Regions from separate parts of the Homo sapiens genome. Here regions 1, 2 and 3 are each linked to region 4. Evidence: promoter capture Hi-C in 16 types of primary human blood cells and fetal thymus (Javierre and others, 2016). All regions are on one chromosome and are shown on one strand. The core of a region is centred on a gene start or on the middle of the fragment in contact, and the rest is flanking DNA. Distances in the headings are between cores, read along the strand shown. Region 1 holds the start of GRM8 (glutamate metabotropic receptor 8). Region 2 holds the start of SND1 (staphylococcal nuclease and tudor domain containing 1). Region 3 overlaps GCC1 (GRIP and coiled-coil domain containing 1). Region 4 holds the start of POT1 (protection of telomeres 1).

What was found. The method cuts DNA at HindIII sites, captures the fragments that hold promoters and counts their contacts. A CHiCAGO score of 5 or more calls a contact.
Region 1: the fragment with the promoter of GRM8 here is called in contact with the fragment with the promoter of POT1 in region 4 in 1 of 17 cell types (activated CD4 T cells); the score reaches 8.3 in activated CD4 T cells.
Region 2: a contact is called between the fragment with the promoter of SND1 here and the fragment with the promoter of POT1 in region 4, in 9 of 17 cell types (non-activated CD4 T cells, naive CD8 T cells, total B cells and 6 more). The highest score is 23.8, in non-activated CD4 T cells.
Region 3: a fragment that was not itself captured here is called in contact with the fragment with the promoter of POT1 in region 4 in 1 of 17 cell types (total CD4 T cells); the score reaches 5.9 in total CD4 T cells.

The regions. Positions count from the first base shown.
Region 1 is chr7:127,251,341-127,254,505 of GRCh38, forward strand. It overlaps GRM8 (glutamate metabotropic receptor 8), which reads right to left and starts at 1,601. Exons shown (of 11, transcript NM_000845.3): 1 at 1,457-1,601. RefSeq lists an enhancer at 2,439-2,688 and a silencer at 2,809-2,868. The HindIII fragment of the contact is 9,242 bases long and covers 1-3,165 here.
Region 2 is chr7:127,650,456-127,653,882 of GRCh38, forward strand. It overlaps SND1 (staphylococcal nuclease and tudor domain containing 1), which reads left to right and starts at 1,739. Exons shown (of 24, transcript NM_014390.4): 1 at 1,739-1,996. The coding sequence starts at 1,919. SND1-DT (SND1 divergent transcript) reads right to left here and starts at 1,377. Exons shown (of 2, transcript NR_186577.1): 1 at 1,218-1,377. RefSeq lists a silencer at 1,288-1,537 and enhancers at 1,335-1,953, 1,778-1,957. The HindIII fragment of the contact is 9,151 bases long and covers 1-3,427 here.
Region 3 is chr7:127,581,364-127,584,963 of GRCh38, forward strand. It overlaps GCC1 (GRIP and coiled-coil domain containing 1), which reads right to left. Exons shown (of 2, transcript NM_024523.6): 1 at 2,788-3,600; 2 at 1-1,946. The coding sequence ends at 651. The region is part of intron 1 of LOC105375490 (a long non-coding RNA gene); the gene reads right to left. Among named protein-coding and RNA genes, the nearest start is that of GCC1, 2.4 kb to the right of the region's middle. RefSeq lists enhancers at 1,663-2,862, 2,581-3,581, 3,582-3,600. The HindIII fragment of the contact is 4,362 bases long and covers 84-3,600 here.
Region 4 is chr7:124,927,899-124,931,184 of GRCh38, forward strand. It overlaps POT1 (protection of telomeres 1), which reads right to left and starts at 1,927. Exons shown (of 19, transcript NM_015450.3): 1 at 1,896-1,927; 2 at 917-1,101. POT1-AS1 (POT1 antisense RNA 1) reads left to right here and starts at 1,975. Exons shown (of 8, transcript NR_125719.1): 1 at 1,975-2,118. RefSeq lists enhancers at 1,863-2,162, 1,917-2,211. The HindIII fragment of the contact is 3,988 bases long and covers 1-2,215 here.

The DNA of each region.
Region 1 (3,165 bases), core at 351-2,850, 2.3 Mb after region 4:
TTTTCTTTTTTGGTGATTCTGTTATTTTTTCACCAACTGTACGAAGCTCAAGGGATATCCGAGCTTTCTGGCTGGGCGGATGGGCTTCGCGCTTGGCATGGCTGAGCGGTCCATCTCTACCTCTCCGTTTCTATCTCTACCATAACAGCGACCACTCAGCCCGCCAGGAGCCCCTGTTTCCCAGCGCAGGTTCCTTTTTCTTCTCAGTTCCTTGGGCTGTTGAAGCCGGGTTCTGGGTAGATAGAGACTGGGGCCGTGGGGAGAGCGCCAGGCTGCTTTTGCCTTTCCCGCGCCCCGGGGCATTCCGGCGCGCTGGGGATGCAGCCTCCGCCCCCGCCGCACCTGGCCGCCCGAGCGCCCGCGCCCACGCCCCGCGCGGGGCCGCCCGAAACTGGGGCCGCGCCAGCCGCGGGAGCTACCGAGGAGCTGTTGGGGTGCGTTTGCCTTTGCTTTTTAAACAAGATCCCCGAGACCTTTTCTCCATCCCCCCAACCCCCAGCAGGACACGGAACTCCGGCGTTTCTCGAAAGCCACAAAAGAGGGGCACGGAAATCCCAAGCTCGCCGTGCTAACTCGGAGAACGCAAACTCGAGGCAGAGCGTGCGCCGTGCGGGGATGTGGGTGTCGAGGACCCCGAAGCGCCCGGCTTCCCCCGCGACCCCCATCCTCCCTAGATCCTGGTTAGACATCCATCCAGCCCACGCTCAGAGGGCGGGGGTTACCCCGACTCATCCCGGAAGCCGCTAACTTCAGAAATCCCTCCTGTTAGGTTCGCGAAACGAAGGTACCTCGTCATCTCGGCGGGGCAAGTCCGGATTCCACCAGGGCAGGTCCGGGAGGTCACCCAGGGCAGACGATCCGAGGCAGAGCGCTTTAAAATCCTGCCGCCGCACGCCCAGTCAGAGCGCCGAGCGCGCCTGCCCCCTTCCCGTCACCCTTCAGTCTCCCATTCGCCGACTAAACTTTTGGGGGATCACATCTCCAAGCCTTGGGAGTTCCGGGTAAAGTCTCCCTCTTTTCTGAACCTCTTTACTGTAATGTAATCATGGGCAGACAAGAGGGGTGGCTGCCTTGTTCTTTGCAACGTAAAATCAACAGACACCCAATCAAGCTCCAATGCCCGGCCAGCCCCTCGCCCCCTGGTGCCCACTCTCCTTCTCCCCCCATTCCCGTCACCTCCGCCCGCTATTTCTCTCACAGACTACGGACATGCAGGGCCATCTACTTGTGCTCAGGAAAAACAAATCACTAGAGTGATATGAGAAGGAATGGTGCACCTGGCTGTCCGCTGAAAGGTTTTAGAGAAGAAAACGGAAAGGGGAATAAAACGGGGGGATTCTCCTTTTCCAACAAGCAGGGCGTTTTGGGGAAGTTTGGGGGCCAGGGGCTTTTTGTCCCGTGGTTCGGCACTTGCTTTCCTCGGAGCCGCTTTCTGCTGCCGGGCGGCGAGTCTTACCCTGCTCCCCGCAGAGGGCGCGGTGAGGAAGCCCGCCGGGGGCCCGCAGCTCCATGTCAGCGCCGCCGCCGCCGCCGCCGCCGCCGCGTGAGGCGAGCACAGCGGCCGCACTTGTGGCTGATCTCTGGGCTGAGGGGGCTGAGCTGGCCTAGCAGGCGCCAAGTCTCTTCCATGTGAATAACAAATACTCCCACCGGCGGCCGCGATTGGTCTGCGCCCGGCGCCTCCCGATCCTCCGCCCGCGGCCATTCACCCGGCGCGGCGCGGGGAGCCGCGGCCAGGATCGCGCCCGGGATCGCCAATCGCTTCGCGCCAACCAGTCACCTCGGGAAGCGGGAGGAGGAACCCCCGAGGGGCGGGAGCCTCTGGATTTCGGTGTCACCCAGCGGCCCTGGCGCGGGCAGGGAGGGGGACCCTCGGCCCGCGGATCCCCCTCCGCTCTTCAGCCTGAAGCGACGAGGAGACCAGAAATGTCAATAGTTCTGATTTTTAAAAATCATCCCCCCTTCCCCGCCCCCAAGAAAAAGGGGAGGACCCAACTACAGAGTGAGAGGGTGGGAAGAAGCGGGAGCGGTAGAAGAAGGAATATGGTTGTGGAGGAGCCCAGCGGCTCCGGCTGCCTGGCGAGCCCGGGACCGGCGCGGGGAGGCGCGACGCCCGCCCGAGCACAGCGGGCAGCACCCGCGAGCCCGGGTCCCCGGTGAACACAGCTCCAGAAAGCGTCACCGAGAATAACACATGGTAGATGACAAGTGTCCCGCCACATGCTTTCTTTTCGGGAATGCTTAAAGTAGAGCCGGCAAGCCGCGCGGTTCCCTTGCAAAGTTTGCCTGGCGCCGCGCGGCGGTTCCGCCATTTGTCCCGCCCCGCGGCTCTGGCGATTGTCTCCCCACTCCCCGCCCCCGAGGGTCTGAGGGACGCGTGCAACAGAGTCCCCAGGGCTCGAGGTACCACACAGCGCGGTCCGCTGCGGGCACTGCGCAGGAAGGGGCATGGGTGGCTACCGGGACGGTCATTTTATTGAGATGATTCAAGGAGCCGCAGACGCGGGGCAGGAAACTCCGGGGGAGCCGTGCTCGGGTTCTGCAGGGAAACCTCGGGATTCCCTTCGCATGCCGCATGCGGAAACCTGCCGGGCTCGACGTGCACAGTCCAGCGCTCCTCCCCACTAGTTACTGCCCAGGCCCCCCGATCCTGCACCCGCCGGAATGAGAGAAAGTAGCCCCTCGCCGCCCAGCTCCCGGGTAGCTGCTCCGGCCGGGCCTTGCGTTGGTGAGAAAGTTCCATCTAGAGGCGGCCGCGCGCAACTGCAGGCGGCGCCCTAGGCCCGGGCGAGCCAGGGAGAGCGGGGCGCGGGGGGAGAGGGGGCAGCCCAGGAGATAAGGAGGATGGAGAAGGACGGGAGAGACCCCGAAAAGGCAAGCTCTAGACCCCCGTTCGGCATCTCTACAATGAATTTTATCTTCCTAAGCATCATGAACTTATAAGCATTATGTCAGGAATCTTTCATTAATTCCTGTATATATCGCCTGTTCTGTTCGGGTTATTTTAATTTTCACATCAACTCTGTGAGATGGTCAAAATTATTAAGCCCACTCTACAGATGGAGGCAGAAGCCGAGGCTTAGAGACACGGCTGGAAAGTATTACAGCCAGAAATCAGTGTCTGGCTTCAAAACCCCATAGCACTTCCTCCCTGGTGGTGTTGGC
Region 2 (3,427 bases), core at 489-2,988, 2.7 Mb after region 4:
ATGGTGTTTTATCTGTCTGGAGAACGTCCTAAATTGGTGCAGAGGTCAAGTTTACTGAAGATGAGATCAAGGAGCAAAGAGGTCAGGGTATGGGATAAGTCATGCTCGTAGATATTGAAGTATTTCAGGATTATTGGCTGAAGACCGTGCACCAAGTGTTAACAATTTCAATGAATGACACGGTAGAAATAGGGGTACGGTAGATAAAAAGCCACGAGATAGAGAGGGGTATAATCTGATGGAACCAACTTCCACAGAGGTTTTTTTTTTTTTTTTTTTTTTTTTTGGAAAAGGGTGGCAAATTAGGGATCTAAGAAGGTGACCTCAAAACTTAACCCTGGGATATGTTTAGTGTGGGAGAATAAACTTACAATCTTTTAAGAGAGCAAGGGGCCATGCACTGTGGTTAATGCATGTAATACCAGCACTTTAGGAGGCCGAGGTAGGAGTATAGCTTGAGCCCAGGAGACCAGCCTGGGCAACATAGTGAAATCTCAGCTCTACAAAAAAAAAATTAGCTGGGCGTGGTAGCGCGGACCCGTGGTACCAGCTCCAGCTACACCGGAGACTGAGGCAGGAGGATCGCTTGAGCCTGGGAGTGTCAAGGCTGCAGTGAGCCGTGATCGTGCCCCCGCACTCCAGCCTGAGCGACAGAGCGAGACTTTGTCTCAAAAAAGCCACAAAACCAAAGAAACAAAAAGAACTGCAAGGGAAGTACTGTCTTCAGTGTAGAGCCAAGTTTTACGATTAAATGACATAACACATGCAAGGTCCTTGGTTCCACATAGTGGGCACTCAACGAATATTAGTTCTCGCTAAACAGTCACTTAAATATTTGTAGGCCTTGGCTTTCCCGTTCCTTCCCCGACCTTTTTACTGGGGCTAGGGAAGGTATCCGGTGGCTGGAGGCGCTTCACACTGGGTCGGGTGAGAGCGTGAAGCGAGCCTTTTCCCTAACGTCACGGGAGCAGCTGGGAAGAGACCGAAGAACGAGGGTCACTCTCCCCTGTATACGTGGCATGTCCTTCCTCTGAGACATTTATTCCTCCCACCAACAAACATTAATGGAACGCCTCACAAGTGCTAGACCCCAGCGACACAAACAAGGGCGAGGCACACTCTCTGACTACAAAAAGGGCGCGCGGCCGCGTGGCAGGTCAAAGCCCACATCGGTAGGAGGTTCCACAAAGCTCTGATTTTCCAAGTTCTCTCCATACTTTTAGCCAAGGTAAAATGTCGGAAGTCGAGTGGAGCGGGTACGGAGATTCCTCCAGGACTCTGCCTGCGTGGCTCCACCCTCCCAGGCCGCATTCCCGGGTACAGCGGCGCCCACCTAGGTGGGTATACAAGTGTGCGCCCCTGAGGCCAGCGGGGAAGGACGTCATGGGCGAGGTCAGGCGGGAGGGCGCGGCTGGCTCCGCCCCTGGGGCTCCCATGGCCCCCCGCGCCCCGCGGCCAGATGCTGACGTGTCCTTTCCTTCCCACTACACCTCCCGACATTACCTACTCCGGCTGCCCCGGAAGTCCCGCCCCATATTTAGCCCATCCTTGCAAATCAACTCTTTCAGCGCTTCCTGGAACTCACCACCGTTTTGGGGACCAAGAGGCGGGGCTCCGCGAGCAGGGTGCCTATTGGCCTGAGGGCCGGCGGGCTCTGGGCGCTAATTGGGCGGAGGGCGGTGGCGCTCTGGCACGCTTGCGCGGCGAGTAGAACGTGTGGCGGCGGCGGAGATCGCGTCTCTTTCGCTCCGTGTCCCGCTGCTGCTCCTGTGAGCGCCCGGCGAGTCCGTCCCGTCCACCGTCCGCAGCTGGTAGCCAGCCTGCCCCTCGCCTCGACTCCCTTTCACCAACACCGACACCCACATTGACACCTCCAGTCCGGCCAGCCGCTCCACTCGTTGCCTTTGCATCTCCACACATGGCGTCCTCCGCGCAGAGCGGCGGCTCCTCCGGGGGACCCGCGGTCCCCACCGTGCAGCGGGGCATCATCAAGATGGTGAGAACGGGCCCCGGACACCGACCCCTCTGCCTGCCTTCGGGCGGGAGTCAGGCATTGACTCCACCTTCCGCCAGCCTGCTCCATGTCCCAGATCCCCTTTCCTCTGCCCCCTTCCTCACTTTTCGTCGATTCTCCGAATCCTCTCACTAGACGGAAGCAGACACGGAGTCCCCTTGTTCCTTGCCTCCCGGACACCTTGACATCAGGGGTCACAGTGATTTCCGAGGTTGCGGCATTCGGATCTCCTGTCTGTTTACCAGGACAGATCGATTACTGATTGATTAACAGAGACAATTCGTTGATATCTGTCCTCCCATCCCCCGTCTTTCTGTTCATTTTGACATATGCTGAGTAGTTAGTAGTTTTTCGAGATCCTGACATCGGCTCTTCTCTACTAGTACTTGGCCATCATGAAACTTTTCTGTTCCCACAAACGCTGTTACTTGACTCCCAAGTTTTCTCACTCTGTGGCCCTCTTTTCCTCTCTTTCCCTCCACCTCTTGTGTCGACCTGAAAGCTCCTGATCTTTGTGTACTTTTGACTTCTAAAAGGTTAGGCCGGCAAGAATCTTAGTAATCATCATTGTTCTCCCGTCCCTTAAAGATAAGGAGATAGGCTTGAAGAAGGCAAGTGACTTGCTTAAGGTCACATGGTGGTTTGGGTTGGAGCCATAGCAAGAGCCCAAGTGTTCGGATTCCTGGTCTAGTGCTCATAGCACTATAGATTCTGCCTGATTTTATATACCCTCAACTTTTTGAAAATTCTTCAATTTTGAATTTGAACCTGCAAAGTTTATTTTTACAATTTACTCCTAGCTCCATGATAATTTGATAATATAAATTCAGTTTATCACTTGCCCCCAGTTGTCCTCCCCAAAACCCTTCCAAATCTTGGAACCTGACATTTCTTGGTTTTACCAATTTTCTGGTTTATGATGACTGTAAACTTCTAGATGTCGTTTCATACTGCAGTTCTGACATTTGTATCTGCAACAGCAAATATCTTTTGTGATACTTTCTCCCAAGGCTCCACAAGTTTTGCTGTTGTAGAAAGTTTTGAAAAATTCTATTTTAGGCCTGGTGCGGTGGCTCATGGTGGTAATCCCAGCACTTAGGAGGCCGAGGTGGGAGGATTGCTTGAGGCCAGGAGTTGGAGATCAGCCTGGGCAACATAGCAAGACCCAGTTTAAAAAAAATTCTATTTTATTACCCTGTTATCTTTCACAAGATTAAAATGTTCTGCAGCTTATGTGTGTGTAAAGCTGATTTTAAGATCCCCTCGCCCAATTCCCATGTGCTCATTTCTTAAGGTAATAGTCTGCCACCAGCCAAGATTCTTGGGATTTTCAGTACTGCCTTTTCCTTTTGTTTATGTGTAATGGAGGGTCAGAACTGATCTGAAACTGAATGAGAAGAGAATTTCCAAGAT
Region 3 (3,600 bases), core at 1,015-3,514, 2.7 Mb after region 4:
ATCAAGCTGGTGCTCAGGGCCCTCTCTAGGATGGTCATAAGCGGTGTGATTGCATAGGTCATCCCCAGGCACTAATTAGACTAAGCTTCCCAGTTCCTTCCAGAATAAACTCACTATTCCTTAGCCCTTGGGACTAGTGGATGATATGTCACTATTTCAAACTTCCTGGTCCCTTTCCAGCCTGGTTTTATGTCCCCAGAGAATTGGGGTAGCAATGGACCAGACTCAGACTGTGATGAGAGGGAGAAAATAGCTAGGTTTTGTGCATTTCAGAGATTAACTGAACTCCCTTTGGAGTCACATTTACTCCTAGCTTTGTGCCAGGAGCATATTATTAAAACAAAACATCTTATTTTAAAACAGCCTTACCACTGTTCCAACTTCTGCACTTCTCAGTCCTAACCTCATCTTCTCCTCACATGCACACCATCAGAAGATACTGCCCCAGGACTTTCAGTATCTCTAGGGCCTAAGGATAAAGCAGCATTAATGGCATTTGGCAGAAAATCCCTTCCCACATTGAAGACTCCTCCCAGCTCAACACAGTGAAGAAATAAATGACAATGTAAGAGAAGAGGCAGCAGAAACCAGAGCCTGCCCTTTCCCACATAAAAGAGGCACAGAAATTCCAGGAATTCATGAAAATGGCATCATCTCTTGCCAGAAGGCCACCAGCTGGCACTGGTTGGGAGTCGCATTATCACTTGTTTCTCCTCTGGACTGAAGTGCAAGATAGTCAGTATGGCTGTGAGAGTCTGCTGGCGGCCCAGGGAGTCAGGTAAGGTCAGGAAGCGGTAGATGATGTTTTTGAGGTACTCCAGATTGGCTCCCTCCCTGCTCTGGTCCCTGATGTTCTTTTCGATGTGGCTCTGCAGGGCTGCAACCTCCTCACGATGCCGTTCGCCCTCCTCCAGCAGCCGATCCTGCAGCTGATGCACCTCGACCTCCAGCCTGTGCTTCTGCTTCCTCAGTGATGTGATCTCCACCTCCTTGCGGGCCAGTTGCTCAGCGTACAGAAAGAAAGTGGGCTCATTGGCCGCTGCAAGTTGTAATGCTTGGGTCAGGCTATCAGAGGATGATGTGTCAGCTGGGTCCCCAGGACCGCCACCACCCACAGGACTTCTGCGTCCTGGCAGCCCAGAGGCCAAGGCCACAGAACGCAGTTGCTCCAGTTCCAAGTCCTTCTCGGTGAGCACAGCTAGGGCACGATCCCGCTGCTTGTGCAGCTCCTCCTCCAGTTTCAGTGTGCGGTCCCTGAAGTCCAGCTGGCACCGCTCCAGCTCCTGCCGGTGGAGCTGCTGCAGCCGGGCCAGCTCCTGCTTCCAGTCATCAGCCTCCTGCTGGTGTTGGTGCTCCAGCTCCTCGCAGGAGAGCCGCAGGGAAATATACTTCTCCTTCAGCTCTGCAAGCTGTTCCTGGGCTGCCTCCAGCTCCTTTCCCAGGTTACCATCTTTGGTATTCTTGCTTTTGAGGACAACCTGGGCTCTCATCTTGTACCTCTCAAACTCTTCCTTCAGCTGTTTCAGCTCCTGTTGGTAATAGAGTGCAGTAGCCTTCTCCCCATCAGCAGCCTCCGAGCTGGGCATTATCTCCAGGTCACAGAGCTTCTCCACATCCAGGGTCACCTGGCTTTTCCTGGCCGCAACCTGCAGCAGCCTCTTCAGCTTCTCCATCTTATCTTTCAGGACATTGACATCCAGACTGGACTCCTCTCCATGGCTGTCTAAAGGGGACCTGCTGGAGGCTGCTAGAGCCAGTGTCTTGTTCTCCAGGTCCAGCTGCAGAATGCGCTCCTTCAGCTTCTGAATGGCCAGCTGGTCCTTCTGCTTGGCTTTCTCGTAGGTGCCTAGCAGCTCAGACACCTCGGATATTTGATTCTCCAGGGCTGCCACCCTCTGTTCTTCTACCTGAGATTGCTGACGGAGTTGATCCTCTGCAAGAGCTGTCTGCAAAACAAGGGAACAGACAAAAATGCATCCACAAAAGCCCCACAGCAAACTCTGAGAAAGCAGGAGAGGGGAGCAAAAGGGTCACAGGTTTGGGATGGCCTGGCAAGAATGCTAACTAGGGATTTTTCGGTTGATTCAGGAGCTAACAAAAGTTCCTATTACCTGCTTGGATTCTGCAAGACACATATTATACTGAACAATATGAAGCACCTTGGTACATCTGCTATTGTTCTGCTTTCCACCTAACCACATATAATGTGTGTTACTGTTGTTTCTCAGGTGCTTCCTCAAATCCTATTAAGAAATCATACAGCATTCTTTTCCTTATCCAATATTCCTGGAAGTTCAAAACTGCGCTGGATCTCCCTCTCCACATTGAAAGGAGGCACCCTTTCAATACCTGTTCTGGAAAATAGCACTTCTCCAGAACAGGCACATCTTGAGTAAAGGCAATGACAAGAGGTTACTTCTGAGAAAATCCCCTTTGCCTTCGGCCACTCTTCCTAGAGGCACATACCAACAGAAGACACGCTACCTTTTACTATACAGCTGCCACTATACTGCTTCATAGAGCACAGCTGGTAAGATGCCAATGCCCAGAAGTGCAGAGCTGTCTGGCTTCAACCCAGCCTACACTGAGAAGCTCCACATCCTCCTGGAAGCACATATGTCAACACCGCATAGAACAGGACTTCCCAGGTTCACTAGTGGAACTTCTCAGGTGGCATCAAAAATGACAGTATAGACACTTAGCTCTAACTAGCAAAGGAGGAAAAAAACCCTAATATTTCTCACTTCAGGTCAATGGCTGATGTTTGAAAGAGATATGGATAATTACCTTTCTCATTTCCTGCTGTAACTGAGCCTGGAAATGGCTCTTAAGGCGGGCAGCCTCTTCCTGAAGTTCTTGCAGCCGGGGATCTGGCTGATTCTTCTCATCTCGAATGGCCTGCAGTTCACTTTTCAGCTCCTCCACCTCACGGGTCAGCTGCTTGGTCTGCAGTTCAAATCCTTCCATCTGTTCAGCTGCATATGCTCGTCCTGCCAAGGCTTCTCGGGTCTCTTCTAACCTAAGCTCCAAGTCCTGGCGCTGGGTCCTCTCCTCCTGCAGCAGCTTCTGGAGCTCACGCAGCATCAAGGCATGGTCACTCTGCTCTTGGGCCCGATCATGCTGCTGCGTGATAAGCCGGGCTTTGGTTTCTGCTATTTGCTCCTGCAGCCCCTTCAATTCTCCCTCCAGGCGGGCCCTCTCCTCCTCCGCCTTGTTACTGGCATCCTCTAAGTCCTGTTTCATCTTTTTCTTGTCAGCCAAGTAAGAAGCCTCCATGCGGGACTTCTCCTGAGTGACTGTAGCCAAAGAACTGGTCAAAGTAGCCAACTGAGTCTTCAGCTGGTGCAGTCTTTTGTCCACCTCCCCACCTGCAAATGGCCCATCCCCACTGCTACTGCTAACGCCACTCTCGGACCAACTGGCCTCTTCGGACTTTGGAGGTGGTGGTCCACGGGCCGGTCTGTCATCTTCTACCCCAAACTCACCCTTGGTGCTGGTGAGACTGGCCGCAGTATCCAAGCTAGTGGCGGTCCCAGTGCTATCCTCGCTGTGAGTGGAGCACCGGTCATCCACAGAGTCAGGAAAGGTGAGGCCTGGAAG
Region 4 (3,286 bases), core at 677-3,176:
CTGCTTCTTTATCCTGTCAGGTCTAAAGGAAATCATCTATATTCAAATTCCTGCTCTACTTCATATCATCAATATGATCTCAGGCAAATTGCTTAACCTTTCTGAAACACAGTGTCTTTAATAACAGTACCTATGTCATAGGTCTTTGTGATGATTAAATAATATACGTAAAAACTACCTAACGCATGGAAAAAAATGCAATGAATGTTAACTTTAGTTATTATTATTACTATCTTTTTTCAATATCCTTCCCATCATCCCCTCTGCCACTGGCCCAGATCATCATCAACTCTCACCTAAATTACTGTAATTGCCTCTTAACTAAACATCTTTCCTCTAATCTTGCATTCGCCAATATATTCTCTACCTAGGAGCAAAGTTTTTTGAACTCAAAGTAAATCATGTCTTTCTCCTGCTAAAACCTACTAAAGACTTCCCATAGCTTTTAGAGTAATATCCAAATTCCTCAACATGCACATAAGGACTGCTTTTTACCTCAAAGGAAGGTACAGCACAGTCTGTTATCCCGTAAGTTCCAGCTCAACTTTCGTGATCTGTCAGAACCAAAAGCTCTCTCATGTTCACACATCACAATGCTAATATCACACCTATTAATTTTAATTGGAGATCAGGTGATTGATCTGTCAGACCCCACAGAAATGTGATTATCTTTAGTTCCGGGACTATATTTATTCATCTTTGTACCTCAGAAACTTACTCCAATGTTTCACACACGAATTTGATAATTGTTCGCTAAATAAGTACTGAATAAGAATAACTTATTGAAATATTCAATCTCAAATGTTATGACAAAGATAAAAACCATACCTAAACCAGTTCTCATAAATAAACTCAACACTTAAAAACTGCATTCCTTTTAGTAGGAAAAAGCATTCTGAGTTATAGAAATTCTTACCTGAATATATTTCTTGCTATAATTGTAACCTGGCTGTAGGGATCCGAAATCTACTTTATGTAATTTACTCAGCGGCTGAACTTCAGGCACCCCATTGACTTCCTTTATTAATTCAAGTGGCATATCAGTTCTGCTTCACACTGATGTCCAAAGCAAATTCAACTAGGGAATCTGACAACTTGCTGCTGAAAATACAAAACCAGTGTTTTACCCAAAATGAAGTCAATAATTTGCTTTAAGTCTCTTTGACTTAGTTATGCTTTTCCTTATTATAGTTAACACGGTTCGGGGTTGGGGGGTGACAGGAGGATGGATTATTTTACAATTTTATTGCAAAGATCAATACAAAACATTCTTCCAAGGAACTGAAACTTAACCATTTTCTACTTAGCTGCGTAAAGTACCTCCAAAAAGCCAGTTTTAAGATCTGTAACGTCACTAACAAACGCTTTTAACATTGTGCTTTAAAATGTAAAATTTATTGGGGAAGAGGGAGGCTGAAAAATCGTGTTTTTTTTTAACCCCCACGGGAGCTGTAATATTGTATAGACAAACTGTGCACCAAAAGCATCGTACTCCAACATGTTTCTGTGGCCCCCTCCCTTCACCCGCTAAATAAATGAAGAAACAAAAATTACTGAACTGAGATTAACTTCTGCATCGTAGGCTCAACCTTATTTCACAGACCTCTTGACGGGGACACTCACTAGTGTCGATATCTAATTTTAATGTTTGCGCACCAACCTTCCCCCAAGCCACCTGAGCTCTGTGAGGGCGGGGACTTGGACTTAACTCCTGTCTGCTTCTCCCAAAACACCAAGAAAGATGCTGAACACAGCAGGCTCGAGATAAACACTCGTAAGAAAGCGTTTCTCTGCGATAATTACATCAAATTTTGATCTAAACTAATTCAATCCCGGGCCCGTTACGTCTGGCACCCACTCAAATGAACACACCAAACCTTACAAATTTCACTCACCCGTACTCTAGAAAGAACCCTAGGAAGAGTTTAGGCGGGCGCGCAGGTGACGTCACACGCACGCTGACGGTTCAGCTCCACGCATGCGTGCAGGATCCCTGGGCATAGTCGCTTGTTCTCCGCCCGCGGTGGACCAGCTGCGTAACGGTTCACACACTGATGGCGCCTGGAGGTTTGGCGAAATACTGACAGGATGCGACGTCAACGGGAGCGCAGGGCCAAGGTACAGGCCCCGCCCAGTCCGGTCACATCCCCCGGAATTCTCGCAGCTCCCCTTAGCTCCGCCCCCAGTGACTTTCCAGCTTTCGTGGCGGGAGGCAAGCTTAGGGGAAGCGGGCGGGTCCGCTGGGCGGGATTTGAGCTTCCCTTTGGTAGATTCGAAGCTCCTGTAGGCAGAGCCTTTCTTTTAATGTCCAGTTCTCTTCCTCCAAGAAATAGGCACCTACTGCAGTCTTTACAAGGAAGCATTTACAAGGATAACAATGTTATTTGGGAGTTTTTATAGTAATTTCGGGCATTGGCATAATGCCACCATTGAGTCTTGCTATTTACAGACAGATTTGATTAACCTTGTCATTGTTTTATAGGGCCATGATTTTGTGGTATAATTAATATTTATTATAATTTATTTTATAGGTTTATTATAGTTTATTTAATATTTATTATAACTTATAATTGATAAATATTATAATTTATCATTTATAATGATAAATTGTTAAACATGAATTCTCTGCTAATTCCAGATATATGCCTTCAATCATTTAAGTGAAATCATCCTAGTGTGAAACTAAATGTAATAAAGAATTACATGAATATTTCCAAGGCTAATTTGAACTAAAATATCTTCTTTATATACATATTTGCAGGAGGATATAGCTAACTTTTTTTTTTTTTTTGAGACGGAATCTCGCTCTGTCACCAGGCTGGAGTGCAATGGCGCAATCTCGGCTAACTGCAACCCCCACCTCCCGGGTTCAAGCAATTCTTCTGCCTCAGCCTCCCTAGTAGCTGGGATTACAGGCGCAGGCCACCATGCCTGGCTAATTTTTGTATTTGTTTAGTAGAGACGGGGTTTCCCATTTTGGCCAGGCTGGTCTCGAACTCCTGACCTTGTGATCCGCCCACCTTGGCCTCCCAAAGTGCTGGGATTACAGACATGAGCCACTGTGCCCAGCCAGCTATGTTTGAAGTGCCTTTTTAATCAACAGGAAGCATTCAGTATTAGCCCATCTCCTGTTTCCCCTCCCCATCCCTGTAGTTATATCCCACGCAGAAGCCGGGGTGACAAGTGCATGAACTCAGGAGCTGTCCATTTGAGGAAAACTATAGGGAAGGTTTAGATGCTATCCTCCTTCCATCTCTGGCTGCATCCGGCTGAGAAATACTATTCC